Regions from separate parts of the Homo sapiens genome. Here all the other regions are linked to region 6. Evidence: promoter capture Hi-C in 16 types of primary human blood cells and fetal thymus (Javierre and others, 2016). All regions are on one chromosome and are shown on one strand. The core of a region is centred on a gene start or on the middle of the fragment in contact, and the rest is flanking DNA. Distances in the headings are between cores, read along the strand shown.

Region 1 (4,220 bases), core at 1,091-3,590, 660 kb before region 6:
TGCCTGGCCAAAACACACATTTTTAAAAAGTATTTTTAAACTATGCAGAAGTATTTAAAATATAAAATAGAAGTGTTCTCTATTTCTGTGTTCTCCATAGGGAATTGGGTATAATATGAGGTAGGACTATTCATAGAGGTAGAGGTTAACCTACCTAGATGTTGAACATCTTTTCATGTGCTTATTGGCCATTCATATGTTTGGGTTTTGGTTTTTGTTTGTTTTCAGTTAAGTATCTGTAGAAATATTTTGCCTATTTTTTAAAAAGCAAATTGGTTGTCTTATTAAGGTATAAAACTTAGAGACCAAAGTGCTATATGAGCTATATGCTTTGTAAATTTTTTTATCTAAGCTTGCCTTTCACTATGTATATATGTATGTATGTATTTTAATAGATGCTGTCTTAGATGTGGTTTCCTAGGAGACCCTAAGATAAGGATTTTTTTTTTGTTGTTTTATTTCAATTTTTAGCTTCAGAGGGTACACAAGGGTATATTGTGTGATGCTGAGGTTTGGAGTATGATTGAACCCATCACCCAGGCAGTGAGGTAGTGCCCAATAGGTAGTTCTTCAGCTTTCTCTCACCTCTTTCCCTCCTGTCTGTTGTCCCCAGTGTTTTTTGTTTCCATCTTTGTGTCCGTGTGTACCCAGTGTTTGGCTCCCACTTACACGTGAGAACGTGTGGTATTTGGTTTTCTGTTTCTGTGTTAATTCGCTTAGGATAATGGCTTCCAGCTGCATCTGTGCTGCTGCAAAGGACATGATTTTGTTCTTTTTTTATGTCTGTATAGTATTCCATGGTGTATGTGTACCACATTTTCTTTATCCAGTTCACCATTGACAGGCACCTGGATTGATTCCATGTCTTTGCTGTTGTGAGTAGTGCTACAGTGAACATACAATTACATGTGTCTTTTTGGTGGAACAGTTTCTATTCCTTTGGGTATTTACCTAGTAATGGGATTGGTGGGTCGAATGGGAGTTCTGTTTTTAGTTCTTTGAGAAATCTCCAAATTGCTTTCCACAGTGGCTGAACTAATTTACATTCCCACCAATAGTATGTAAGCATTTGCTTTTCTTTGCAGCCTTGCCAACATTTATTATTTTTATCTATTTTTAATAATAGCCATTCTAACTAGTATCAGCTGGTATCACACTGTGATTTTTTTAAATTTGCATTTCTCTGATGATTAGTGATGTTGAGCATTTTTTCATATGTTTGTTGGCTGCTTGTATGTCTTCTTTTGAGAAGTGTCTGTTCATGTTCCCTAGCCCACTTTTTAATGGAATTACTTATTTTTGCTTGTTGATTTAAGTTCCTTACAGATTCTGGTTCTAGAAGGGGTTTGGGAAGTCATTAACCTCTTGAAATTATTTGTAAAAATTTTGAATAGGTGTTTTTCTGGGCAGTGGATTCAAAACTTTTATCAGACTCTCAATGAAGTATGAGACCTTCAGAATGCTAAGAACTGTCCATTAAAAGTGTCATTCAGCATACACTGTTCAATTATATTTACTACTCAAGACTGAAAATGTTTGAGACTCTGATAGCCCTAAACTGAACAAAGTCAAGTTCTAAAATATGCTCAATAAATGTCAAATAGCATTTACACATATCTTATCATGCATGAATTTTAATGTGCACTACAATCACTAGCCAAAAGCAAGCACCTTAATTTTACGATGACCTTATTCTATCATCCAGATTGGGAACCTTGCAGACACTATTAATTAATACAAGAGTTAAATTGAGATTGCTCCTGGCAAACCAAGTTATATTGTTACACTTCTTAGATTACACAATGACTCAGTGACATCTGGAACACTGGTCTACAGCTCTTAACCCAGAAAACTTTACCTCCTGGTTCATACTAAGCTAGGTAATCAAATCTGTTTCCTACTGATGGAAGTAGCTAATTTTTGTTGTCTCCATGGGAAAATATTAAAGTAGTTTCTTAAATAAAGTGGTACTATTATTCATGCATTTGTAAGATTGCCCTATATTTCAGAAATTTAGAATTATTTTCTCCTGCCTGCCTGCCTGCCTGCCTCCCTCCCCCGACCCCCTCTCTTTTTCTCTCCTCCTTTCTTTCTTAGAGTCACGGTCTTGCTCTAACACCCAGGATGGAGTGTAATGACACAATCATAGCTCACTGCACCCTCAAGCTCCTGGGCTCAAGTGATCCTCCCATCTCAGTCTTCTGAGTAGGTAGGACTACAGGCATGCACCACCATGCCCAGCTAATTTTTAAAAATCGTGGGGGCTGGGCACAGTGGCTCATCCCTGTAATTCCAGCACTCTGGTAGGCCAAGGTGGGCAGATCAGTTGAGCCCAGGAGTTCGAGACCAGCCTGGGCAACATGGTGAAACCACATCTCTACAAAAAATTTAAAAAGTAGCCAGGCATGGTGGTATGCATCTGTAGTCCCAGCTACTCAGGAGGCTGAGGCAGGAGAATCTCTTGAACCTGGGAGGCGAAGGTTGTAGTGAGCCGAGATCAGGTCACTGCATTCCAGTTTGGGTGACAGGGCAAGACCCTGTCTCAAAAAAAAAAAAAAAAAAAAAAAAAGTTATTATGAGAATCAGAATCATTTATCCATTTTAAAATGTGTGAGCACCTACTATGTGTAGATCCTAATGATTCTGTAGTACACAAAACAAGATAAAAATCCCGACTTTCATGGATCTTACATTCCAATACAGGAGATAGGAAAATAAGATGAATAAGCTGGTCAGGGAAGCCTTCATTGAGTAAAAACCTGAAGGAAGTAAGAGAGCTAGCTTTACTGATACTGTGAGAAAGAGTGTTCTATGCAGACAAACAGCAAGTATAAAAGCCCTGAGATGGAAGGAAGGACATGTTCAAAAGCAAAAAAGAGGCCATGTAGCCAGAATACATGAACAAGGAAAAGACAGTAGGGCATGAGAGCAGAGAGGTAATGCAGGACCAAATCATGTAGGTAGTTGTAGGCCTAGAGTGTTTCTGAGTGAGATAGGAAGCTGTTTGAGGATTTTCAACAGAAAAATTACAAGAACCAAGGGAAGTGTTAACAGTAGGTTACTCTGGCTGCTACGCTACAAACAGACTGCAGCAAAGCAAAGGAAGCAGCTGGGAGACCAGTTAGGAAGTTATTTCAACAAAACAGGCAAGAATGATGATTTGGACTAGGATAGCGGCAGAGGGAATGGTGACAAATGGTCAAATCTAGATACATTTTGGAGATAGAGCTAACAAGATTCGCTAATAGACCAGATGTTGGGTATGAGACAGAGAGAGGAGTCAAGAGTGGTACCAAGGTTTTTGGCCCAAGCACCTAGAAGAATAGAACTGGCATTAACTGAGAGAGCAGGCTGCAGGAGAAGCTGGTTTGTGGAGGACCATCAGAAGCACAGTTAGACACATACCAAGTTAAGGATACCTACTACACATGTCAAGTAGGCAGTTGGATATGTAAGTCTAGAGGTCAAGGGACAGGTCTTGACCACAGATGGATTTGGAAGTCATCATCACACAGATGGTATTTAATGCCATGGGACTGGACGAGATTCCTGTCCTAGAGAATGGAACAGAAAAGTGGAGCAGTCCAAGGACTGATTCTTGGGGCACTCCAAAATCTAGAGACAAGGGAGATGAAAGGGAAGCACCAAGATAAATCAAGATAGTATATTAACTTTAGATATGTAAAAAGAATTTCAACCGTTACTAAGGTCGAATTAATGAGAAAAGTAACAGACACACCATCAGGAACTCTAGAGATATAGTGATACAGGGGTCCCCAGAGAAACTCCGACCAGCTTGTGCACTGGGAAAATGGGGTGGAGCTTCGTGAAGTTCACGCTGTTTGCAGGGAAAAGGAGCCTGGCCTCTGTGATCTGGTGTGGTAACCTGGGGATTCAATCTGTGAGATGTGGGCCTGTTAACAGGAACCTCTCTTGCTTTGCTGAGTTTTTTCCTTTTCACCCAATAAACCCTGTCCTTCCTCACCCTTCAAATTGTCTGTGAGCCTAATTTTTTGTGGTTGTGTGTCTTTAGCTGACCTAAGAAAAAAGTCCTACAATAATAATATTGCTCAAATGATGTGTTCTAGGAAGATTATATTAGAAGGAATACTTTATGACTTGATTTTTTTTCATGTCAACTAAGGAAGACTAAAGACTCAGCCTCCTAAGTAGCTGGGACTACAGAAGCATACTACCATACCTGGCTGATTTTTTTGTTG
Region 2 (4,355 bases), core at 1,409-3,908, 510 kb after region 6:
TTCATCAAAAGTAAACGCTTTTGCTTCTCAAAAAACTCTGATAAGAGGATAAAAAGACAAGATACAGATGGGAAGAAAATATTTACAAAACCAAACATATAACAAGTGATGAGTACCTAGAATGTATAAAGAATTCTCAAAACTCTATAGTAAAAAATAAACAATCCTTGGCCCGGCGCAGTGGCTCATATGTGCAATCCTAGCACTTTGGGAGGCCAAGGTGGCAGATCACTTGAGATCAGGAGTTCAAAATCAGCCTGGCCCATATGGTGAAGCCCCGTCTCTACTAAAAATACAAAAAAAATTAGTGGGGCGTGGTGGCGGGTGCCTGTAATCTCAGCTGCTTGCGAGGCCTAGGCAGGAGAATCACTTGAACCCGGGAGGCGGAGATTGCAGTGAGCCGAGATGGCGGCACTGTACTCCAGCCTGGGAGACAGAGCAAGACTCCATCTCAAATAACAATAAAAATAAAAATAAATCCAATTTAAAAATGAGCAAAACATAGGAACAGACATTTCACTGAAGAGAATATACTAATGGCAAATAAACACATGAAAAGATGTTAAATGTCATTAGCTATTAGGGAAATGCAAATTAAAACCACAATGAGATGTTACTGCTCACTTATCAGAATGGCTACAATAAAAACGAGTTATAACACATATTGCTGGCAAGGATGTGGAGAAACTACATAAATCATACATTGCTGGTAGGAATGTAAAATGGTTCAGCCTCTCTGGAAAGCAGTTTGACAGTTTTTTATAAAACTAAAACATGCAAATCTCCCATCTGACCCAGCAACTGCACTCTCAGGCATTTATCCCAGAAAGAAAACATGTTCAAACAGAAACCTATACACAAATATTCATAGCAGCTTTATTCGTAATTGCCAAAACCTGGTAGCAGCACCATGTCCTTCAACATGTGAATGGTTAAACAACTGTGGTACATCCATACCATGGAATATGACTCAACAATAAAAAGGAACAAACTATTTGATATGCATCCTTTTTTTTTTTGAGATGAAGTCTCGCTCTTTCTCCCAGGCTGGGGTGCAGTGGCACAATCTCAGCTCACTGCAACCTCCGCCTCCCAATTCTCCTGCCTCAGCTTCCCAAATAGCTGGGATTGCAGGTGCCTGCCATCACACCCAGCTAATTGTTGTATTTTTAGTAGAGACAGGGTTTCACCATGTTGGCCAGGCTAGTCTCAAACTCCTGACCTCAAGTGATCTGCCCACCTCGGCCTCCCAAAGTGCTGGGATTACAGGCATGAGCCACCGCACCCGGCCCCACTTACATAGCATTCTTGAAATGATAAAACTATAGAAAAGGAGAAGAGATGAGTGGGTACCAGGCTCTAGGAACGGGAGGGGGTAGTTGCAGGAGGGAGGTGGGTGTGTTTATAAAAAGGCAGCACCAAGGATCCTGTGGGGATGGAACTGTTCTGTATCTTGAGAGTGGTGGTGGATAGAATTGCACAGGACTAAATACACACATGCACACACGCAAACAAGTACTGGGGAAATCTGAATGAGATTGATGGATTGCACCAATGTTAATGTGATATTTGTACTGAAGTTTGACAAGATACTACCATGGGAGACACAGATACTACCACTGGGGGACAGGTAAAGTGTACAGAGTTCCTCAGAAGTATTCCTTACAAGTGCATGTGAATCTACAACAATCTCAAAATTAAAAGTTTACTTAAAAATGTGTTTTAAGGCCAGGCATGGTGGCGCACGCCTGTAATCCCACCACTTTGGGAAGCCAAGATGGGCAGATCAGTTGAGGCCAGGAGTTCGAGAACAGCCTGGCCAACATGGCAAAACTTTGTCTCTACTAAAAAGACAAAAACTAGCCAGGCGTGGTGGTGGGTGCCTGTAATCCCAGCTACTCAGGAGTCTGAGGAAGGAGACCTGCTTGAACCCACGAGGTGGAGGTAGCAGTGAGCTGAGATCGTGCCACTGCACACCAGTCTAGGTGACAGAGACTCTGCATCAAAAAAAAAAATTAAATTAAATTTAGATGCAACTGTAGTCATTTTCACAGAAAAAACTGGGTTTTGGGAGGAGGGGAACAACACAAGCAGGAGTGAACTTTTTCTCTGAAGAAGTTGTTCACAGAATATTCTACCAGGTTATGGCCCTTTGCTGCACCAGAGGAGTTGACCAGCTGTGGAAACTGAGGGCAAACAAAGACTGTAGGTGGTGCTCATTAATATGACCACACATGTCAGTACCTGGCCACAGTGCATGCTGTGTCTCAACCACACAAGTTCAGGGCCAACGGCAATGTCCATTATCCTTGGCCCATCAGTGTGGAGCAAAGCACCTGGCACAAAGCAGTGATTCTACAAGGTTTTTATGGAATAAATAATGGATAATTAAGTCCTGATTTGGTTGGAAGAACATATTAACGTTCATAGATTTGGTTCAGGTTCAAAACAATTCATTATATGAGTTGTTTAGTAAAAGGTTACATAGCAAGTTTGAGTAGAGAATTTTGCAAATTCCTTTGAGAGGTGGAGGCGGGCGGATCACTTGAGGTCAGGAGTTTGAGATCAGCCCAGCCAACATGGTGAAACCCTGTCTCTACAAAAACACAAAAATTAGCCAGGCATGGTGGCACACACCTGTAGTCCCAGCACTTTGGAGGGCTGTGGCATGTGGATTACATGGGGCCAGGAGTTTGAGACCAGCCTGGCCAACATGGCAAAACCCTGTATCTACAAAAAATATAAAAATTAGCTGAGTGTAGTGATGCACACCTGTAATCCCAGCTATTTGGGTAGCTCAGGCATGAGAATTGCTTGAACCCTGGAGGCAGAGGTTGCAGTGGGCCGAGATCATGCCACTGCACTCCAGCCTGGGCGACAGAGCGAGACTCTATCTCAAAAAAAAAAAAAAGAAAAGGAAATTTTGCAAATTCATGTGCTTTGCTTTGCTCCATGTTTTATGATTCCTATATTGGTTTGAGTCTTTACTTTATATCATGCACACACAGATTATAATATAAGTGGTTTGCTATTTCTAACCTCTTGACTCTACCACTTGGAAAGAGTTTCACTCTCTGATTATCGTGTATGACTACTGGCTATTTGCTACTGCAGTTTTCCAGAAGTCTACAACAGGGTTAGAAAACAAACATAGATAAAAATGCCTTACTTTTTACTAGGCACGAAATGTTCCATTCAGTTAAACCTGTAACTGGACTTGTGATGCTTGGGTTCCTACTTCACACAACCACAGAGAAAGCAGTTCTCTGGGGATCTCTAGCTGACTCCATTCTATGCACGGCTAGCCCAGGAGAATTGTCTTTCATTAAGCACATACTGAATCTGAAGGATGAGCTAGCTACACTCCAGGAACATATCGTCCGTGAATTCACTTTGCATTTTATCAACTCACTTTGCAGGATAAGGAAAGTGGGAAATGAAACTGCCAGAAAAATCTGATGTGATGTTGTTTTTAAACAGTCCAAGTCACAGTCCTTTCAAAAGAGGATGCTGCTTGCTGAAGCCTTCCTTGTCCACTCCAGTCCACACTGTTATCTCTCTCCCTTCTCTGAATTCTGACAGTATCTGTTGCTTAAATCACTCACATAAACATTCAATTGTAAATGATCTTGTGCTGTTACAGGGAGGCGGTATGGTGTACTGGAGGCAGACTGCTTGGATTCACATCTTGGCGCTGCTCCTTACGAGCTCTAAAGCCTTGGTTCTCACATTCATAAGCTAAGGATAACAATAGTACCCACCTCATACTGTTGTTGAGGATTAAATGATGTAATATATGTAAAGCACTTATAAATAAGAGCTCGATAAATGTCTGCACAAACAAAACAAAACCTAAAGTCTGTCTTCACGTGGTATCTCTTTCTCCTTACCAGTAAGACTTCAGTAAGGATGTATGCTGTTATCCTGGAAAGTGTCCTAGTAAGGTGGAGGATGCATTTTGATGCCGTATGTCATCATCACAAATTTTGTGAATAGGATTAGGATGAAAGTAGGAGCCTGTGGACAAGCTCTGGACCCCGGCCATCCCTCCCTCTCTGCCTCTGCTTGTGCTGTTCCTACCACTGCAGAGTCTGCAAACTTGCACAAGTGACAAGGGCACACTTCCTCCTTTTACACTAACCTCCAGCTCCTTTCATTCCCAAGGCCGTAGCTCCCATGTAGAATACACAGAGTCTTTTTGCTGGTACACTTTGACCAAAATATTCTACTTCTAGGAAGCTATGCTAAAGAAATAATAGGCTGGGTGTGGTGGCTCACGCCTGTAATCCCAGCACTTTGGGAGGCCGAGGCAGGTGGATCACGAGGTCAGGAGTTCAAGACCAGCCTGGCCAAGA
Region 3 (4,783 bases), core at 634-3,133, 540 kb after region 6:
GCATCTGTCTCTTTAGATAAAATAGTGTTCTACTTACAACCTAGAGAAAAATCAATATACTTGCCCTAAAGCAGGATGTAATAGGAAATTTCAAAAATATTCTATGGTATTTACTGGGTTAGGTAAATAATAAATTGGCAAGTTTCCACAAACATTTACGAAATAGTCTTAGTTTGTAGGACCAGGAGGTTTAATTACCATGTAGTGCTGCTGGGGATAAGGAAGGATGATGGTTAGGAGAGTAACTGCACTCTTTGTCTAATAAAAATAAAGAGATTTGATAACCAAACTGGAAATATAGAATAATTTGACTTCTAATAGCCCTTGAAGCTTCAGATAACTTCTCAAAAACATGAAAAACAACCCTTTAGCTATTGCTAATTACAAATCTGTGTATCTGGGCACATAAGGACTCTCTATACCGGCTTTGGAAATTTTTAGAAACACATTTCCTGGAAGAACCTGAGAGGTTGGATCTGGCCAAAAAAATATAATACAGTCTGTGGCAGGATGCATTGTACTTAACCATATTCAAGGACAGAAAGGCATTTGCTTTATCTGGGATATCCTGTGAAAACACATTAAGAACACCCAGGGAAACATCGTCAGCAGGGATATTATTTGTGGTCATCGTTGTTTTTAACGTGTGTTTTTTCCTTAGTAAATCCTAGACAAAGTAATTTGAACCTTGTAAAAGAGTACTGCAGGCCAACCTGGGCAACATAGCAAGATTACGTCTCTAAATACAAAATAAATAAATAAATTACAAGCAAGAGGCGGTAGAATTTTTAAACTGAGTTCATTGGTGAGGATCTTGGATGGAGTTCAAGGGAAAACAGTGAAAAGGAGATGAAACACTGTCCCTAATCCCACCGTCTTGATAGAACTACTCTGAGAACTTTGGTGCCTTTTTTGTGTTACTTTTCTTCTAAGTATTCCTTGTATATACTTGTAACTGGGAAGTGACAAAGTTCTAAGAGATCCTGGCAAGAACTGCCACCCCCAACTCATCACCACAACACTATCCTTCCCTTCCCCACTCCCTTCCAACACACATACATTCTCAGCCTTCAAAACCAACAAGATCAATCCCATCATGATTTGTTTTTAAAACTTTTTTTAGAGTCAGAGTCTTGGTATGTTGCCCAGGCTGGTTTCAAACTCCTGGGCTCAAACGATCCTCCTCCTCTAGCCTCCCAGTTGCTGGGATTACAGGCATTTTAAATTCACGACCAGAAACTAGGACTGCCAATTGGCAATCCTACCACATTCCCTGGTCGATTTACTCTGCCGCGCTGCTAGATGGTTAATTCATACTCCTCTTTCCTCAAACTTCCGACACCTCTCCTCCTCCTCCATCTTCACTCTTGGCTCATGATCTTGTTTTCTACTTCTCTGAAAAGTAATTGAAGCAATCAGGAGAGAATTTCCACACATTCCCTCTACCACATCTATTCCCACCTGCTCCTGTGCCCATATATACTCTGCCTCCCTCCTGCTGCCATGGATGAACTGTCTGTGACCCTGAGGCCAACCCCTTTCCTCATCTTTCGCAGTCCGAGCCCCCTTCCCTACTTAGGAGCCCTGCACCAGCAATTCTGCCCTCTTTCCTGCATTGTCATATTTCTCTCTCCATGCATCACTTCCAATAGCATACAAACACGCTGGTATTCCCCTACCCTTAAATATCCCTCTCTTGACCCCGTTAACCTCTGTCAAAACTAAGTCAAATCTGGTCATTCCTGTTTGAAACCCCCTAATGGCTCTCGTCTCACTTAGAGAAAAGTCAAAATCCTACAAGACCCTATATAGTCAGAGCCCATCTACTTACTACTCCACCACCTGTGTTCCCTGTTCCTAGAACACACACCGGGCCTCCTCCTTGCTCAAGGCCTTCGTATCTGCTGTTTCCTGAAAGGCTCTCTGAGTATCTGAATGTTCATTCCCTCACTTCACATCTTCACTCAAATGCCATCTTTTCAGAGAGGCTTTCTTTGGCCTCCCTACACAAAATAACCACCACACTCCCTCATATTACCCATCTCTCTTCCCTGCTTTATTTTTCTTCTTAGCACTTCACGCTTTCTAACCTACCATACCAACCTTACTTGTTAGGTTTATTGACTGTTCCCCCCATTTGAATATAAGCCCCATGACAGCAAAAAAAAATTTTTGTCTGTTGTGTTTGCTGCCAAACATATTCTCTAGCTAGCACTGCAGTGCCTGGTACATAGGAGGTGCTCAATAAAAGACACAGACATAATGTAGGTCATCTTAAAGTTTGCACAGTCATGCTCATTTATGATTCTTCTGCAGCCTCTGCTTAGAGTTCTCTGAATCAAACCCATGGACCTCGTCTTACCATGGTCTACTGTGTACATGTCTTTTTGTCTTTCAAATAAAATCTGACTGTAGAACGAGAAAAGCGAAGGACCTGGAGTGCCTTCAGCAATGCACTGAGTCTCTTTCCTCGCTTTCATTTTGGTTTCTACTAAGTTTGGTATGGAGAGAGGAAGCATTTGTGTCTATCTTGGAGAGAGAGCAGAGAAGATCTTGCAGGGGGTTTCAGCATGAGTATTTGGCAACAGAAAGGATGATTCAGAGCTTGAACGTGAAACTCATACAGAGGCTTAGGGGAAAAAAAATAGGAGCTAGAAAGAGAAGGGAGAATCAGTCCTATCGCCTGAGAATATGGTTCTCTGGATCAGAAAGACACTGTGGCCCAAAGCAGATTCCAAAGATGAAAGGAGAAGCGGCATTCCACACCAGGAATAAATGTTTTAGCCTTGGTTAAAAGTAAACATAAAAGCAAATCACCACAGGATTAAGATTTCAAAACAATAAGGAGGCAGTGAGCTCTAGAGTCAGAAAGACCTCGCTCTAAGTCCAGCTTCCACCACCTCGGAGCGCTGGGACGCAGTTCTCAGGGTTGCAGAGGATTTCAATGCAAGCCTGGAGCACTGTCTGGCAAACGGTGGGGCCTCAAGGGATGTTAGTTCCTTCCCCCGCTACAGCCTCCACTGCATCCCCACAGCCCCGCACCACGTAAGACACATAGCAGATGCTCAAGAAATACTAGTTTGATGAACGGATGGGTAACACAAGAGGAATCAGTTCCCAAATCAAGCTGCTTCTGCCCTCACACCAGACTTCATAGAATTCACTTGCTTTTTTATCACTTTCCTGCATCCCCTTGCCCTCTGCCTCACCCACTCCCAAAACCATCTTCACGTTTGTTGTTTGTGTTCCCACTCCACAATGGAGCCGGCGTCAGCTACGTCAATCCTCGAGCTGCCAAACGTTCATTTCCATTTAAAAACATCGTGTTTTAGCAGAGAAACGTGGACTAGGGAGGCACGGTGCAGACACCAGCCTCCATCTATTACTCCAGGCTGACAGATTTTTTTTAGCAGAGTCTTGTTTTTCTCCTCTGAAGGAAAGCTTGTTTCCATAGAAGGATTTCCCCTCTTTGTGTTCTTGCTTCATTCACAGTTTTAGTGTTTACTTTTGCTTTTTATCTTTGCATAATCCTTGCTGTTTTAAGAATCTGAGGAGACTCTGGACTATAGTCCCTCACCCTCCCCTGTAAATATCTCTGGTTCATGCCAATAGTGGCTGACACATTTCCCCAGTTTTCCTTCACATCTTTGTCGTGTGAAAAAATGCTGGTAAATCATGTGGACAAGCCTCAGATGACTTGGTATTTGTTCATGGGACATTTTTCAAATCCTTCTGCCAAGATTTTGTGCAATAATCAGTTTGTTTTAATGCAGTTCATGGAGAGAGGGTTCCAGTTCTGCACTGGCTGTGCAACCACCAACCTTTCTGTAAGTCCACCAAGGGTCTGGAGGCGGAGGGCCTCAATGCTTGGAAGGCCAGGAGGCCCACTGCTCAGGGAACAGGTGTGCTCATGGAAGTAAGTGGCTGGCCTCCAGGACTAGCTCATAAGCAATGGGGAAACTAGGGTTGGGAACTGTTTGGTGGAGCAGCAAAAAAAGTGATGCCATCGGGGCAACCCCAGCGTGAGTGAGGGCAGGGGACTCTTCTTGTCTTGTTCACAATGTCCCCAGCACCTACCTGTGTGCACAGCTCAGGACTGGTATTCTGTAAATATTTGTGGAATGAATAAATGAACAAATGAGGTAGAAAGACAGGGTACCACGAGAATCCTCTTGAATAAAATGGAGAGTTTTGAAAGGGATTAAATTGCTATTGTCATGTTTAATTTTACTGGAAAATATTTGTAATTCTACTGAAACACCAGGTTGGTGTGGTCTAGAGAAAAAAAATACTAGACACCATTTTTTTTCCATATAAGACAAACCAAAGCAAGGAACTTCATTTTTTAAAATTTATTATTTTTTTTTATTTTAAATGTTTTTTTTCTGGGTACATAGTAGGTGTATATATTTATGGGGTACATGAGATGCTTTGATACAGGCATGCAATGTGAAATAAACACATCATGGAGAATGGAGCATCCATCCCCTCAAGCATTTATCCTTTAAGTTACAAACAATCCAATCACATTCTTTAAGTTATTTTAAAAATATACAATTAAATTATTATCGACTATAGTCACCCTATTGTGCTATCAAATAGTAGGTCTCATTCCTTCTATTTTTTTTTGTATCCATTAACAATCCCAACCTCCCCGCCAACCCTCACTACCCTTCCCAGCCTCTGGTAACCATCCTGTTACTCTCTATGTCTATGAGTTCAATTGATTTGATTTTTCGATCCCACAAAATAGGGGACTTTAGGCAAAAAAATAATTGATGCC
Region 4 (4,691 bases), core at 1,761-4,260, 840 kb after region 6:
ATGTTGATAAAAGAGTACAAAATTTCAGTTAGGAGGACTAAGCTTTAGTGCTCTACTGCACAGAATGGTGACTGTAATAAATAATAATTCACTGTATATTTGGAAATTGCTAAAATAATTTTAAGTGTTTTTACCACAAAAAAATGATAAGTATGTGAGGTAATTGATTTACTAATTGGCTTGATTTAATCATTCCACAATGTAAACATGTATCAAAACATCATATTGTACCCCACAAATATATACAATTATTATTTGTCAATTAAAAATAAAATTTTAGCCTGGGCAACACTGTGAGACCCCTATCTCCTAAAAAAAAACCAGCAGGTTGTGGTGATGCACCCCTGTAGTCCCAGCTACTTGGGAGGCTGAGGCAGGAGGATGGCTTAAGCCCAGGAGGTTGAGGCTGGAGTGAGCTGTGAAAGCACCAGTGCACTCAGCCTGGGCGACAGAGTGAGACCCTATCTCAAATAAAATATTTTTAAAAACTGAGAACCCCTCCCCTCTAAAAACCTCCAAAGAACTCCAAATGCAGCTTGAATGGGTTCCAACTAGTCAAATTGAGCCCAATTTGAACAATAAAAGAACCATTTAAAGCAATGGATTATAACCCATTGATTAAAATAGGAGTTGATACAGATACAAATAATGAATTAAAGCTTTGATGAGTAAGGGGATACTTACATAACCTCAAAGTGTCTCCCCACAAAATGCTAATTAATTTCAAAGGGAAAATTAGTAACTTTAGAATGGAGAAAACCGGCAGACCCCTTAATCACGTGATAGAGGTTTTCATTAATAATAGGACAAAAACAAATCAGCTGCTACTTAATAGAGTGCAACAAGAAAAACATGGCTTCAGTGACAGGAATGTCACAGAAGCATAGCCTGAACCTAGTCATGAGGAAACATTCAACAAACTCACTGAGGGACCTTCAACAATATAACTGTCAAGTAATTTTCAAAAGCGTCAAGGTCATGAAAATCACAGAAAAGTTGAGGAACCAATCAAGTGTGAAGGAGACTAAAGAACTTGAGATCCATATGAAATGTGTGATTGGATCTCTCTATAAAGGACACTGTTGGGACAACTGACGAAACCTGAGTGGCTGAAGTTCAGAACACGCTGCTCCAAAATATGCAGCTCTGGCATATGGACTATGCTGAGTTAAAGGCACTTGAACAACAGCAGGCACGGCTGGGTGTGGTGGCTCATGCCTGTAATCTCAGCACTTTGGGAGGCCAAGGTAGGCAGATCACTTGAGGCCAGGAGTTCAAGACCAGCCTGGCCAACATGATGAAACCCCGTCTCTACTTAAAATACAAAAATTCGCCAGGTGTAGTGGCACATGCCTGTAATCCCACCTACTTGGGAGGCTGAGATAGGAGGATCATTTGAGCCCAGGAGGTCGAGGCTGCAGACTGTACCACTGCACTCCAGCCTGGGTGACAGGGCAGGACATTGTCTCAAAAAAAAAAAAAAAAAAAAAAAAAGGTAAAGAAAAACAGCAGGCACAAGAATAATATGGCCTTTTTCTTTCTGAAAGCAGGAGAAAAAATTCCCACATCAAAGATATCCTCCCTATACCAGAAGGAAACTATCATTCTACATCAAGGACAGGAAATTGAGGTCAAGGGAAATCTGCACAAACGTTGTTAAATTAACTTTTATCTTCTTAGTCACTTCTCCACCCAATTAACCTACTCAAGCCCAAGTCCCTTTGTCTTCTCATTTTCAGTGTTCTACTCCTTGTCCAATTCAGTATCTAAGTGTTCAACATGAACTGCATCTTTGGGTCTTCATCCCTTATGAGGGCTCCACATCACGGAACTCTTATATTAAATAAATTTGTATGCTTTTCTCCTGTTAACATGTCTTTAATTCTCAAGCCCAACCAAAAAGCCCTAAGAGGATAAGGGTAAAATTTTGCCTCCCTTTCATAGTGTATCTTTGTTACTTTCCTGATATTTATGGTCATATTGTGGTTATGTAGGACAATGTTCTTGTTTGCAAGACGTACACACTAAAGTATTCAGGAGTGATGGGGCATCAATTTGGCAACTTACTTTTATTAAAATATTAGTAATGATTCTGAAAGTTCGGGATTATTCCAAATGTTAAAAAACTGTAAATCAGATCACACCCTATCTTACCTTCCAGTGACTTCCAAATAAATTCAGACAAAAAGCCGAAGTATGTACCATGGCTTACTGAAAGATTCTCCCTGAGGCCTGAAAGCTTGAAGAGATGAATAACTCCTCCCTTCTCAGGCCCAGTCCCAAGCTTGGGCCAGCAGCGTGGGTCAGCAAGACAGCAGAAGCAGGAAGAGAGCTGGCCGAAAGACACATACCCCCTTGAAGATTGAGGGGCAGGCCGTCCAGGTACTATGTAGCAGTTACATCAGACTGAGACACTTCCTGTTTACAGGAGACTATAAAACCCCTGCCCCATCCTCATTTGGTGCTAACGCCATTTTAGGCATCAGCCCACCTGCACCCAGGCGCTCATTAAAACAGTGTGTTGCTCCACACTGCCATGTTGTCTGCTGATGCACTCTCAGGGTTCGAGCCGATACAAGAACCTTTCATCTTACAACATCTACATGATTTGGGCCCTAGCTATTTCTCCTACCTCGTTTCTTAACATCTTCCCCTCACTCATTCCATTCCAGCCAAACTGGCCATACTGCTGTTCTTTGAACAGACCAAGCAATACATCTCAAACATACAGGCTTTGCACCTGTGGTTCCCTCTGCCTGGAACGCTTTCTCCCCGCTTCTACGTCTTTCCTCAAATGTCACTTTCTCAAAGAAGCTTTCTCTAACTGCTGTATAAAACAGCCACCTGACCCTTCCATTGCTCTTGATTCCCATGAGGCCCAGCTTCATATTATCTTCCTTGCATTTTTCATTACCACAATTATATAAAGGATGTTTTTCTGCCTTCCCCTATGAAAACAAGGACCTTGTTTTATTCACTGCTTTACCCCAGGTTCTTGGCACCTGGTAGGTACTAAATAGTTATTTGAATAGGGATGATAAATTGTATCTGTACAATTACTCTCTACACGTGATAATACCTAGCTCTCTAATTAGAGATATATCAACCCAACATCAAATTTATTCATGAATCAAAGGTAAGAATCCACAGATTTAGAATTCCACAGTGTGTCACGGTCAACAAAGAGGGGTTTGAGAAACAAACAGCTAAGCTTGTTCAACACCATTTCTCCCTAAAAAGATTCATCACAAGCCGTGAAGCTTCCCATACAAATAAGGGTCATCAAAGGTACTCAGACCTTAGGAGGCTCCTCTCCACAAAGAAATGCAGCTTTGAATCCTCACTTGCCCTTAGGCACCTGCTGGAGTGATCTTCTACAGCTCTTAGCTTCATTTTCATGTGGTCTCAGATCAAATAAAAGGACTTGCTCCACTGAATAGAACTTTTAGCTTTTCAGGTTTTTACTATTTTATAATTTTAAACATAATTAATCGCACATAATTGAAATCACACCCCTACCCCTCATCTCCCAAAATGTGGCCCCTGAGCACCAATGTTAGATGAACATTTTGAAGCAGGTAGATGTCAATCTGAATAAGACAGCTCACATGCCTTCTATAGCCTCCCAGGACCAATTCCACCCAAGAAACAATCTCTCAGTTAAACAAAAACCAGGACACCTCAGCTCCTAAAGCCTGAATTCCATGTTGACACCTTGGTCTCAAATAGTCCTCCTAACATATAGAATGCCCCTTTGGAGAAGGTTGATGGTTCTAAACCTAAAACCAAAGCTCAATGCATGCTGGGCTTAATACCTAGGTGATAGGATGATCTGTGCAGCAAACCATCATGGCACATGTTTACCTATGTCAACCTGCACATCCTGCACATGTACCCTGGAGCTTAGAATAAAAGTTGAAGGAAAAAAATAAAGAGACATAGAATGTGGAAAAAAAAAAAACAAAAAAACCCCACAGCTCCTCAGACCTTAACGGAACCACAGGTTGTTATTTCCCACTAAAAAGAGTGCAACAGCAATCCCCAAATGATGTAGCATGAGAAAGCTCCTAATCAGTGCTGCTTTCTCACGGTAAGAACCAAAGAGCTTTTTTTATTCAGAGACAGGGTTTCACTCTGTCACCCACGCTGGAGTACAGTGGTGCAATCATACCTCCTTGCAACCTCAAACCCCTGGGCTGAAGGGATCCTCCCACCTCAGCCTCCCAAGTAGCTGGAACTACAGGCATGTACAACCATGCCTGGCTAATTTTCTAAAACTTTTTTTATTTATAGAGATGAGGCCTTGTTATGTTGCCCAGGCTGGTCTCAAACTTCTGGCCTCAAGCGAGCCTCATGCCTCAGCCTTCCAAAGTGCTGGGACTACAGGTATGAGCCACCACACCAAGCCCCAGTGAGCTTTTAAAGATATTATCCATTATCATATTCTTCAAATTACATCACTGACACAGTCAGTGCTCACAATTAGTCCAAGTAGTAGAACAGGGGTTGAAATCTGGTTATAGCTCAGCAAAAATGTACAGTACAAATATGTTTTGCTTAGCTCACAGTATTTGAAAAACAAACAAACTATTCTGTCCAATCGAGTAGCCTACTTATCTTAAATAAAAATTTTAAAATGTCCTCAGTTGCATTATCCACATTTTAAAGTGCTCTAGAAAGGCCAGGTGTGG
Region 5 (4,230 bases), core at 1,461-3,960, 930 kb after region 6:
ATTTGGTTCAAGCCAGGGGCGATGGCTCACGCCTGTAATCCCAGCACTTTGGGAGGCCAAGGCACGTGGATCACCTGAGGTCAAGAGTCCAAGACCAGCCTGGCCAACATGGTGAAACCCCATCTCTACGAAAAATACAAAAATTTAGCCGGGTGTGGTGGACGGCGCCTGTGATCCCAGCTATGCAGGAGGCTGAGGCAAGAGAATCGCTTGAACCTGGGAGGTGGAGGCTGCAGTGAGCCGAGATCGTGCCATTGCACTCCAGCTTGGGAAACAAGGGCAAAACTCCGTCTCAAAAAAAAAAAAAAAAAATTTTGATTCAAATAGTTTTTTACCCAGTCTTTCTTGAAGGGTCGAACAATTATTTTGTAGACTAAGGTTGTTAGCTAGGATTCAGAAATAGATTTCTGTTAACTCCTAATACTGTCTGTAAAATTTTATCTAAAGGTGCATTTTTCTAGACAAGTTCATAAAAGACTTCAAGAGGCTGTAGATGGTCTTGTCACTGAAAAACGGCAACGAATTATATTTATACTATTATTTATTGTATGCTGTTTTGTTTTTATTCCCCAAGAGTAGGGATTATACATTGTGTGGCAGACACACAGACGGTGTGTGTTTGGGGATGTTTGCTCCCTCAAAATCCTTCCTTAAGATGCGGTGCCTGTAATTCCAGCTACTCAACAGGCTGAGGCAGGAGGATAGCTTGAGGCCAGAGATCTGTCTGGATAACAAAATGAGGCCCCCCACCATTTCTATAAAACAAAACAAAAAAACCTTTCCTAGAAGAAACTAACATGCCCCTTGAAAAACTAAGATTAGCAACATTTCATAAAACCCACTTTTTTTTTTTTTTTTGAGACGGAGTTTCGCTCTTCTTGCCCAGGCTGGAGTGCAATGGCGCGATCTCAGCTCACTGCAACCTCCGCCTCCCGGGTTCAAGCAATTCTCCTGCCTCGGCCTCCGGAGTTGCTGGGATTACAGGTGTGCGCCACCACGCCCGACTAATTTTGTATTTTTAGTAGAAACGGGGTTTCTCCATGTTGGTCAGGCTGGTCTCGAACTCCCGACTTCAGATGATCCGCCCACCTCAGCCTCCCAAAGTGCTGGGATTACAGGTGTGAGCCACCGCGCCCAGCCGCGACCCACTTTTAATGATAGAAATACACATCGCTTTTTCAGATATACTAACTGGACTTAAAGCAAAGTTTAAAAACAATCATCGGCCGGGCGCGGTGGCTCACGCCTGTAATCCCAGTACTTTGGGAGGCCGAGGCGGGTGGATCAGAGGCGGGTACATCACGAGGTCAGAGTATCAAGACCATCCTGGCCAACATAGTGAAACCCCACCTCTACTAAAAATACAAAAAACAAAAACAAAAACAAAAACAAAAAAACTAGCTGGGTGTGGTGGCTCGTGTCTGTAATCCCAGCTACTCGGGAGGCTGAGACAGGAGAATCGCTTGAACCTGGAGGCGGAGGTTGCAGTGAGCCGAGATCGCGCCACCGCACTCCAGCTTGGCGACAGTGAGACTCCCTCTCCCTCTCAAAAAAAAAAAAAAAAAAAGAAAAAAAAATCGAGTATCACCAACCACACAGCAGAAATGGTTCAAAAAAGCTCAAAATCGAAGGTCCATTTACAAATTCTAGCGGTACTAAACCCTAAAGGCCGTAATTTTAGGTCTTTCTGCTTTTGCTTTCCGGTTACTTTTTTAAAGGCTGACCTACTTACTGAAGATTATGGGACAACCTGGCAACATTCGTACTGCACAAAAATGGTATCTGCCCGAGTTGGAAGAATTATTTCTTAACAAAAGAGCTATCTATCGGAAGCTTGGACATGCCCCCTGCAGTGAGAACCCTGGGGCCGTTCCATTTCTTCTGAAAAGATCCAGGCCCACAGGCAGCGACGACCCTGGCCAGATTTGCCGTGAGAGAAAAGTGAAAGTGGGGGGAGTCATTCTGTCCGTCCCGTGAAAGCACGGGAGTTAGTGACGGGATGCAGGCCGGGACTTGCGGCCACTAGCCGAGGGTCGGCCTCTCCCACGTCTCACTCGTGCCGGCGTTAGCCGTGCGCCCTGGAAGCCCCGGCGCTGCGCGCGGCTCTCCCGGGCGGGGAAAGCTGCAGCGCCGCGGAAGCTTTCCCTGCAGGTTAAAGGTCAGAGGCGCTGCGGTAAGCGCAGCTGGAAAGGGGGTTGTGTGCTCCAAGCCGCTCGCCGTCCGGCCCCGCGTCCCGCCGCCCCTGTCGCCCCCGCCTCTCCCGGGGCCCCGCGCATTTGGCGCCGCAGCTCCGCGCTCCCAGCCGAAGTCGAGCAGCCCCAAGCGGCGCTCCCAAACTGAACGGCTCCGCTGGCCGCAGGACGCCGGCCGGGGGATGCGCTGGGACCGCGTCCGTTGGCGGTTGGGGTGAAGGGCACCCCCTGGCCCCCGCCCCCGACGCGGTCGCTGGTGTCCCCACCCAGCGTTTCTTACCGGCGCTTTTGCGCCCTGCTGACTCCGGCGTCGGGCGCCGACGCGACAGTCCCGCGGCTGCCACTCGTGGATTGGGGGGCGCTCCGGGAAGAGAGGTTGAAGAAAGCCGACGGGATGTGGGATCGAGATTCACGGCGGAGAGAGCTTTCTGTGTTTGGGTATTTCTGGGGGGTCAGAGTTCGTGACCTCTTTCTCGGCTCGGCGGCGCGCTATCCCGCCAGCGCCTGCGCATTAGCAACGGGGAGAAGCGGCGAGAGGAGGTCGTGACGTTCCCAGGGTGGGGTGGAGGGATCGGAGGGCCGAGCAGCGGCTCTGTGAGTCCACTGCCCCCTTTTGGCTTGGAGGCAGAGTGCCCCGCCAGAGCTACGCGTTCCCAGCCAGGTAATTTTTGAAGCCACGTGCAAAGGTTTAAGCATCGTTTGCCAAAGGTGGGCATTAGGGGAGGTTTTGAGTCAACGTTTTAGATTTGAGTAATAAATAACCCTCTGGGTCTTAGGCATATCTGTTTCTAATTTCTGGAAAACTGGGCTCTGGGGTAGAGTCCAATCATATTTAAACTTTTTTTTTTTTGTATTACACTTTAAGTTCTAGAGTACATGTACACAACGTGCAGGTTCGTTACATATGTATACATGTGCCATGTTGGTGTGCTGCACCCATTAACTCGTCATTTACATTAGTAAGCTTTATATATAATGACAAGCTGAGGCCGACTCATGCAAATGGTAAGGCAAAGTTTCACTTATAAACTGTTGTGAGTAAAGAGACATAATGGCTAAACAGGGCAAGAATATAATCACTAGAGACTGGGCACGGTAGCTCACGCCTGTAATCCCAGCAAGTTGGGAGGCCGAGGCGGACGGATCACTTGAGCCCGGTTGTTTGAGGCCAGCCTGGCCAACATGGCGAAAACCCGTCTCTACAAAAAAATTAGCCAGTCCTGGTGGCGCGTGCCTGTCGTCCCAATTACTTGGAGGCTGAGGTGGGAGGATCACCTGAGTCAAGACGGCAGTGAGCCAAGATCACACCACCGCACTCCAGCCTGGGTGACACAATGAGTCTTTCTCTCTCTCTCTATATATACACACACACATATATATGTATATTCCACATCCTCTCTATAATATATATATTATTATATATTGAGGATTATCCTCAATGGCCGTTTTTTGTCTGTTTTGCTCAGTGATGTATTACCAAGCACATAGGACAATGCCTGCTATTCAATAATGATGTATGAAATGAAAGCCAGGCAAGTGGCTGCTGGGAGGCCAAGGAAAGATCACTTGGGGCCAGCAGTTGGAGACCGGCTTGGGCAAGATAACAAAACCCTGCCTCCACAAAAAAAATTTTTCAAATTGTGAAATGAAGAGACATTGGTGGAACATCGCATTCTGACAGTGGCCACCTGTAGTGGCAAGGTGTGGCAGGAATAACTGCCCTGTGTGCAAAGTACTCTGCGCTTTAGATTTTGAAGCATTCTTGAAATTTCTAGTTTTTTTTTAAATCTCCTTTGTTTTGTCATGAAATTTCTATTTTATCTAGCTTAGGTCGGCACTGTAGGAAAGCAGCCACAAACTCAGGGCAGAAATCCAAGGAAGGAAAAACAAACGTTTGCTGGGAATGAGAACATCTCTGTTATTTCTCTCTGGAACTAGGCAGACGGACAGAGATCAAGGCATGAAACAATCCCTAACAAGTAAAAATATGCTTTATCCCTCATTAAAAATCCACCTCTGCTGAGCACAGTGGCTTCTG
Region 6 (4,603 bases), core at 1,996-4,495:
CTGAACAGTTCTTAATGTCCTGGGCCCCAGCAGGAAACCACTGAATCTATAAAGTCCTGTCCACCAGAAATGAGTCTGATTGTGGATGGCCTGGTTAACCCAGATTGCCTTCGGTGCCTGAGGGACTTGATATTTTCTCATTATGAAGACTTTCCCATCTAGTGAACGCTGCAAATAAAACTGCTCAGAATCGGTCTGAACTGCCTGTTTCCGTGGTAGCAGGCCTCTGTCTGGAGGATAAATCTGCACCATCTTCTTTTTTTTTTTTTTTTTTTTGGGTTTCAGCCAGTTGTGTTACAAGGAGTTCCGAAATGTGCTATAAGTGACACCCAACAAGATGGGCTCGGCCAGTTGGAGAGGGAAGCTTTGTCACCAAAGGGACTTGCACCCCTGGGCCAGACGGTGGTGTCCAAGAGAAAGTGATCAAAGAGATACAGAACCCGCATGCCTAAATATTTATTTCAGTTGTTCGTATTTCCCACACTTTTCAAATGTGAACTTGTGTCCTGAAGGTGGAGCTTTAGTACACAAGAAAATTGGGAAGGGGCAAACATGTTTGTACAAAATGGGGGTAGAATCAGCAAAGAATGCATTTATATGCTTCCTCGTCGCCTACGTTTTTCATGCCAAAAAGTTAGCACAGATTCTGATTTCTTTCACCGTAGGAGTCTGCATACAATTAAATGGGAGGCAAAAGAAGCCCACTCTTAAGAGTGGGGCTTATGGTCCCAGTAGAATGGCAGGGAACTGTAGCCATCAAAGCCATTTATACTTCTTGTGGGTAGTATTTTTAAGATGTTGTTTCTTTTTCAAAATGAAGCAGCAATGAACTGAGTAGTGATCAAAATGCCGCACCACAGAGTATGTTTAATCCAAATAGCTCCCAAGATGGTCTGTGACTGATTGTACCAACTCTACGGGACTTAGAGAAATGACTTGGTTACCAGTGAAGTAAAACTATCTCTGGAATGGAATTGAACTGTTGCTTCTCAGCACATAGCGACACTGCCACCGCTGGTTCACGGAGCCAGTGAAGGTCACTGAGTTCTGCATCAGTCACAGGGAAAACTGTCAAAACACCAGCGCATAAATCCCCTACTATGCTGTGGAGGGGGTCTCTGAGCTTCGGATGAGGTTTTTAAAATATTGATCTTCCCACTTCCAGAGGTGCAAAAATTCTGAAAGCATTCCAGGAGGGCAGGGAGTGGGGGAGCAAGGCCAGATATTTTGGAGCAGGTGAAACATCTGACTTGTCTTGCCTGAGATGTCCCGATTAACACCAACTGGGTACTTTAGGCCTTTCCCCTTCTTCCTCCCCTCTCCTTATGGACACTCCAACACCATCATCACAGCACAAAGGGCAACCTCATATCTCGTGGGAAGGCATTTTCTGCCTCCTGCCAGGCAAAGATAATGTTATCCAATTGCAAATGAAAGGCTTATGAATGAAAAGATGACCACTCTGACTTTAGTGTATGAGAGCCACTGCTGAAATGATAGGATCCTTGAACTTCACATCTAGAGCAGAAACTCACACTTCTCTTCTTCTCCCTCCACCTCACCCTTCTTTCCTTAAGCCTTCCAGAACTCCTGCCATATCCCTCAGCACTGGGGAGAACTTGAAGCACTGTTGGAGAAGTTTGAAACCTGCAACCTTCGGCAGGACTCAGCATGGGACAAAAGCCACCTCATTCCTTTCCCTTCCCAAAACAGCATCTCGAGCTGGGGAACTTGGAGGGAAGGAAGAAAGGGGATAGCAGCCAATTGCCCTCCCTGGGGCCTGGGGTCTGGAAATAGCCTGGGAAGGAACAGAGATCATTTCCCAACGATCCATAGAGGTCCTCAGCACCCTCCACTCCTATGCACCCCCTGGCTCATCTGCCAGACTGTAAGGGTGCTGATGGTGCCCGCAGCTGCCCCGGGAAGCTGGGAGGCATTTGTGCATCCTCTGGGAAGCCCCATTCCGAGAAATCATGAACCTATTCCCCAGTGGGCAATGATTCCCTGTGCTTCAGAAATTCTTGGCGGCTGTGGGGGCAACCCAGCTGTTATTCACCCTCTGGGTGAGGTGGTGAGACCTCAGGGGGTCCAAAGGATAAAAGTGGGTAATGATGAGACAGATGGAGAGCCTCGAGGGAAATACGGGGACTTGGGTCTAATAGTAGAAAGCAGGGCGGGGGCTGGTTGGTGCATTTAACTTGAGGAACTTTTCAGTCTCACTACAGAGAATGATCTCTGGGGGATTATGGCAATGGCCACAGGTGGCACTTAACTAGAGCCAGGTATGTAAGAGGCCCTGGGGCTAGATATGGATTCGAATCTCGGCTCTGATATCTACCAGCAGTAGAATGCCAGCACGTTCCACAACCTTTCTATAACCATTCTCCTGGACTACTAAGTAGGGATGACAATAACAGTCACTAATTAATAGGGCTGTTATGAGAATTATGAGTCTTAACCCATGTGGTGAGTTCACAAGCGCACCCGGCACGTAGTAAGTGCTCAGTAAATGTTAGCCCCGCTCATTAGGTTAGATGGTGAGCAGAACTTTCCAAGTGCTAGGCTTGAGAGCCTGGGACTCTGTTGCCAAGGGAGATTAGAGAACCTTTGCAAATATGGGCGCTCCGGCCCTGGGGATTGTCCAGAACGAGAGTGTGGCGCCTGCCTTTCTGCCACCTCACTCATCCGACCCGGGGAAACCCACACCCTGTCACAGGGGCGCCTTGGTCCCCGGAGTCTCCGGCTCGGCCATGTCTCCCGCGCGCCTCCCCGGGGCCTCCCTCTCGCCGCTCCACACCTGTCAGCCGCTCTCGCAGCAGCCCTGTGGCCCGAGCCCGGGGCCTCAGCTGCAACCCCTTCGCACCCTGGATCCTCGCTCCGCGCGCCTGGCGTATCCCCGACCCGGCTGCTGTCGTAAACAAAACCGGGCGTTGGAGCAGCACCGCGGGCGGACGGGCGCGGGAGCCCGCTCCGTGCGCCGTTAGCGCGCCCCGGGAGCCCCAGGCGAGCCAAGGGGGCGATGGTGGCGGCCGCGGCGGCCGCGGCGGGCGGCTGAGCTTTGTTATGAATAGATGAAAGAGGCCACCTACACAGTAACCCAAATTACGAGACCTCCCTCCTCCCTATCTCACCGAATCAAGAGGGGAGGGGAGATGGGCGTGGAGGGAGGGCGGGCGGGCGGGCAGGAGGCGGAGGGCGGAGGAGGAAGAGAGGATGAGGAAGGGGGCCAGTTGCATCCCACTTTCACAATGGGAAAGTGAAACGCACAAGCGCACCCAACCTCTCCAGCCCTCCCCGCCCGCCTCGCTCCTCTCCGCCCGTCCCCTCCCTTCCCCTCCGCGCCTCCCCGCGAGCGCCAGCGCTGCACACAGGAACTCTCCGGCGAAGGAGGGCGAGGAGGAAACGGTGCCGGAGCGCGCAGGGCTTGCTGCCGCCACCGCCGCTGCACAGGCTGCCGGAGCGAGCCTGCCGCGCGCCGCCCTCCCCGCTCTCCTTCCTGGGCGAGCTGCGGGGATGGGGCGGCCGCGGGAGCCCGAGCGCGCGCAGGAACCGCCGCCGCCGCCGCCCGCGTCTCCGTTGCCGCGCGCCTGAGCCGCCGTCGCCGCCGCGCGCCCTGCCCGGGGGCGGCCCCCCCAGCCCCATGGAGGTCTCCCGGAGGAAGGCGCCGCCGCGCCCCCCGCGCCCCGCAGCGCCACTGCCCCTGCTCGCCTATCTGCTGGCACTGGCGGCTCCCGGCCGGGGCGCGGACGAGCCCGTGTGGCGGTCGGAGCAAGCCATCGGAGCCATCGCGGCGAGCCAGGAGGACGGCGTGTTTGTGGCGAGCGGCAGCTGCCTGGACCAGCTGGACTACAGCCTGGAGCACAGCCTCTCGCGCCTGTACCGGGACCAAGCGGGCAACTGCACAGAGCCGGTCTCGCTGGCGCCCCCCGCGCGGCCCCGGCCCGGGAGCAGCTTCAGCAAGCTGCTGCTGCCCTACCGCGAGGGGGCGGCCGGCCTCGGGGGGCTGCTGCTCACCGGCTGGACCTTCGACCGGGGCGCCTGCGAGGTGCGGCCCCTGGGCAACCTGAGCCGCAACTCCCTGCGCAACGGCACCGAGGTGGTGTCGTGCCACCCGCAGGGCTCGACGGCCGGCGTGGTGTACCGCGCGGGCCGGAACAACCGCTGGTACCTGGCGGTGGCCGCCACCTACGTGCTGCCTGAGCCGGAGACGGCGAGCCGCTGCAACCCCGCGGCATCCGACCACGACACGGCCATCGCGCTCAAGGACACGGAGGGGCGCAGCCTGGCCACGCAGGAGCTGGGGCGCCTCAAGCTGTGCGAGGGCGCGGGCAGCCTGCACTTCGTGGACGCCTTTCTCTGGAACGGCAGCATCTACTTCCCCTACTACCCCTACAACTACACGAGCGGCGCTGCCACCGGCTGGCCCAGCATGGCGCGCATCGCGCAGAGCACCGAGGTGCTGTTCCAGGGCCAGGCATCCCTCGACTGCGGCCACGGCCACCCCGACGGCCGCCGCCTGCTCCTCTCCTCCAGCCTAGTGGAGGCCCTGGACGTCTGGGCGGGAGTGTTCAGCGCGGCCGCTGGAGAGGGCCAGGAGCGGCGC

The links. The method cuts DNA at HindIII sites, captures the fragments that hold promoters and counts their contacts. A CHiCAGO score of 5 or more calls a contact.
Region 1: a contact is called between a fragment that was not itself captured here and the fragment with the promoter of PLXNC1 in region 6, in 1 of 17 cell types (M2 macrophages). The highest score is 5.2, in M2 macrophages.
Region 2: a fragment that was not itself captured here is called in contact with the fragment with the promoter of PLXNC1 in region 6 in 1 of 17 cell types (neutrophils); the score reaches 5.2 in neutrophils.
Region 3: a contact is called between a fragment that was not itself captured here and the fragment with the promoter of PLXNC1 in region 6, in 1 of 17 cell types (neutrophils). The highest score is 5.5, in neutrophils.
Region 4: a fragment that was not itself captured here is called in contact with the fragment with the promoter of PLXNC1 in region 6 in 1 of 17 cell types (naive CD4 T cells); the score reaches 7.4 in naive CD4 T cells.
Region 5: the fragment with the promoter of NR2C1 here is called in contact with the fragment with the promoter of PLXNC1 in region 6 in 4 of 17 cell types (naive CD4 T cells, total CD4 T cells, total CD8 T cells and 1 more); the score reaches 9.3 in naive CD4 T cells.

What each region holds. Positions count from the first base shown.
Region 1 is chr12:93,491,182-93,495,401 of GRCh38, forward strand. The region is part of intron 5 of MRPL42 (mitochondrial ribosomal protein L42); the gene reads left to right. Among named protein-coding and RNA genes, the nearest start is that of MRPL42, 26 kb to the left of the region's middle. The HindIII fragment of the contact is 3,980 bases long and covers 351-4,220 here.
Region 2 is chr12:94,659,802-94,664,156 of GRCh38, forward strand. No RefSeq gene overlaps it. Among named protein-coding and RNA genes, the nearest start is that of TMCC3, 11 kb to the left of the region's middle. The HindIII fragment of the contact is 6,489 bases long and covers 1-4,355 here.
Region 3 is chr12:94,686,883-94,691,665 of GRCh38, forward strand. No RefSeq gene overlaps it. Among named protein-coding and RNA genes, the nearest start is that of TMCC3, 39 kb to the left of the region's middle. RefSeq lists an enhancer at 2,211-2,450. The HindIII fragment of the contact is 3,111 bases long and covers 329-3,439 here.
Region 4 is chr12:94,986,323-94,991,013 of GRCh38, forward strand. The region is part of intron 3 of NDUFA12 (NADH:ubiquinone oxidoreductase subunit A12); the gene reads right to left. Among named protein-coding and RNA genes, the nearest start is that of NDUFA12, 15 kb to the right of the region's middle. RefSeq lists an enhancer at 3,039-3,550. The HindIII fragment of the contact is 397 bases long and covers 2,813-3,209 here.
Region 5 is chr12:95,070,908-95,075,137 of GRCh38, forward strand. It overlaps NR2C1 (nuclear receptor subfamily 2 group C member 1), which reads right to left and starts at 2,711. Exons shown (of 14, transcript NM_003297.4): 1 at 2,473-2,711. RefSeq lists a silencer at 2,129-2,408 and enhancers at 2,298-2,798, 2,489-2,808. The HindIII fragment of the contact is 1,017 bases long and covers 2,138-3,154 here.
Region 6 is chr12:94,145,332-94,149,934 of GRCh38, forward strand. It overlaps PLXNC1 (plexin C1), which reads left to right and starts at 3,246. Exons shown (of 31, transcript NM_005761.3): 1 at 3,246-4,603. The coding sequence starts at 3,641. RefSeq lists silencers at 3,013-3,142, 3,153-3,402, 3,473-3,702, 3,833-4,072 and an enhancer at 4,273-4,372. The HindIII fragment of the contact is 5,941 bases long and covers 363-4,603 here.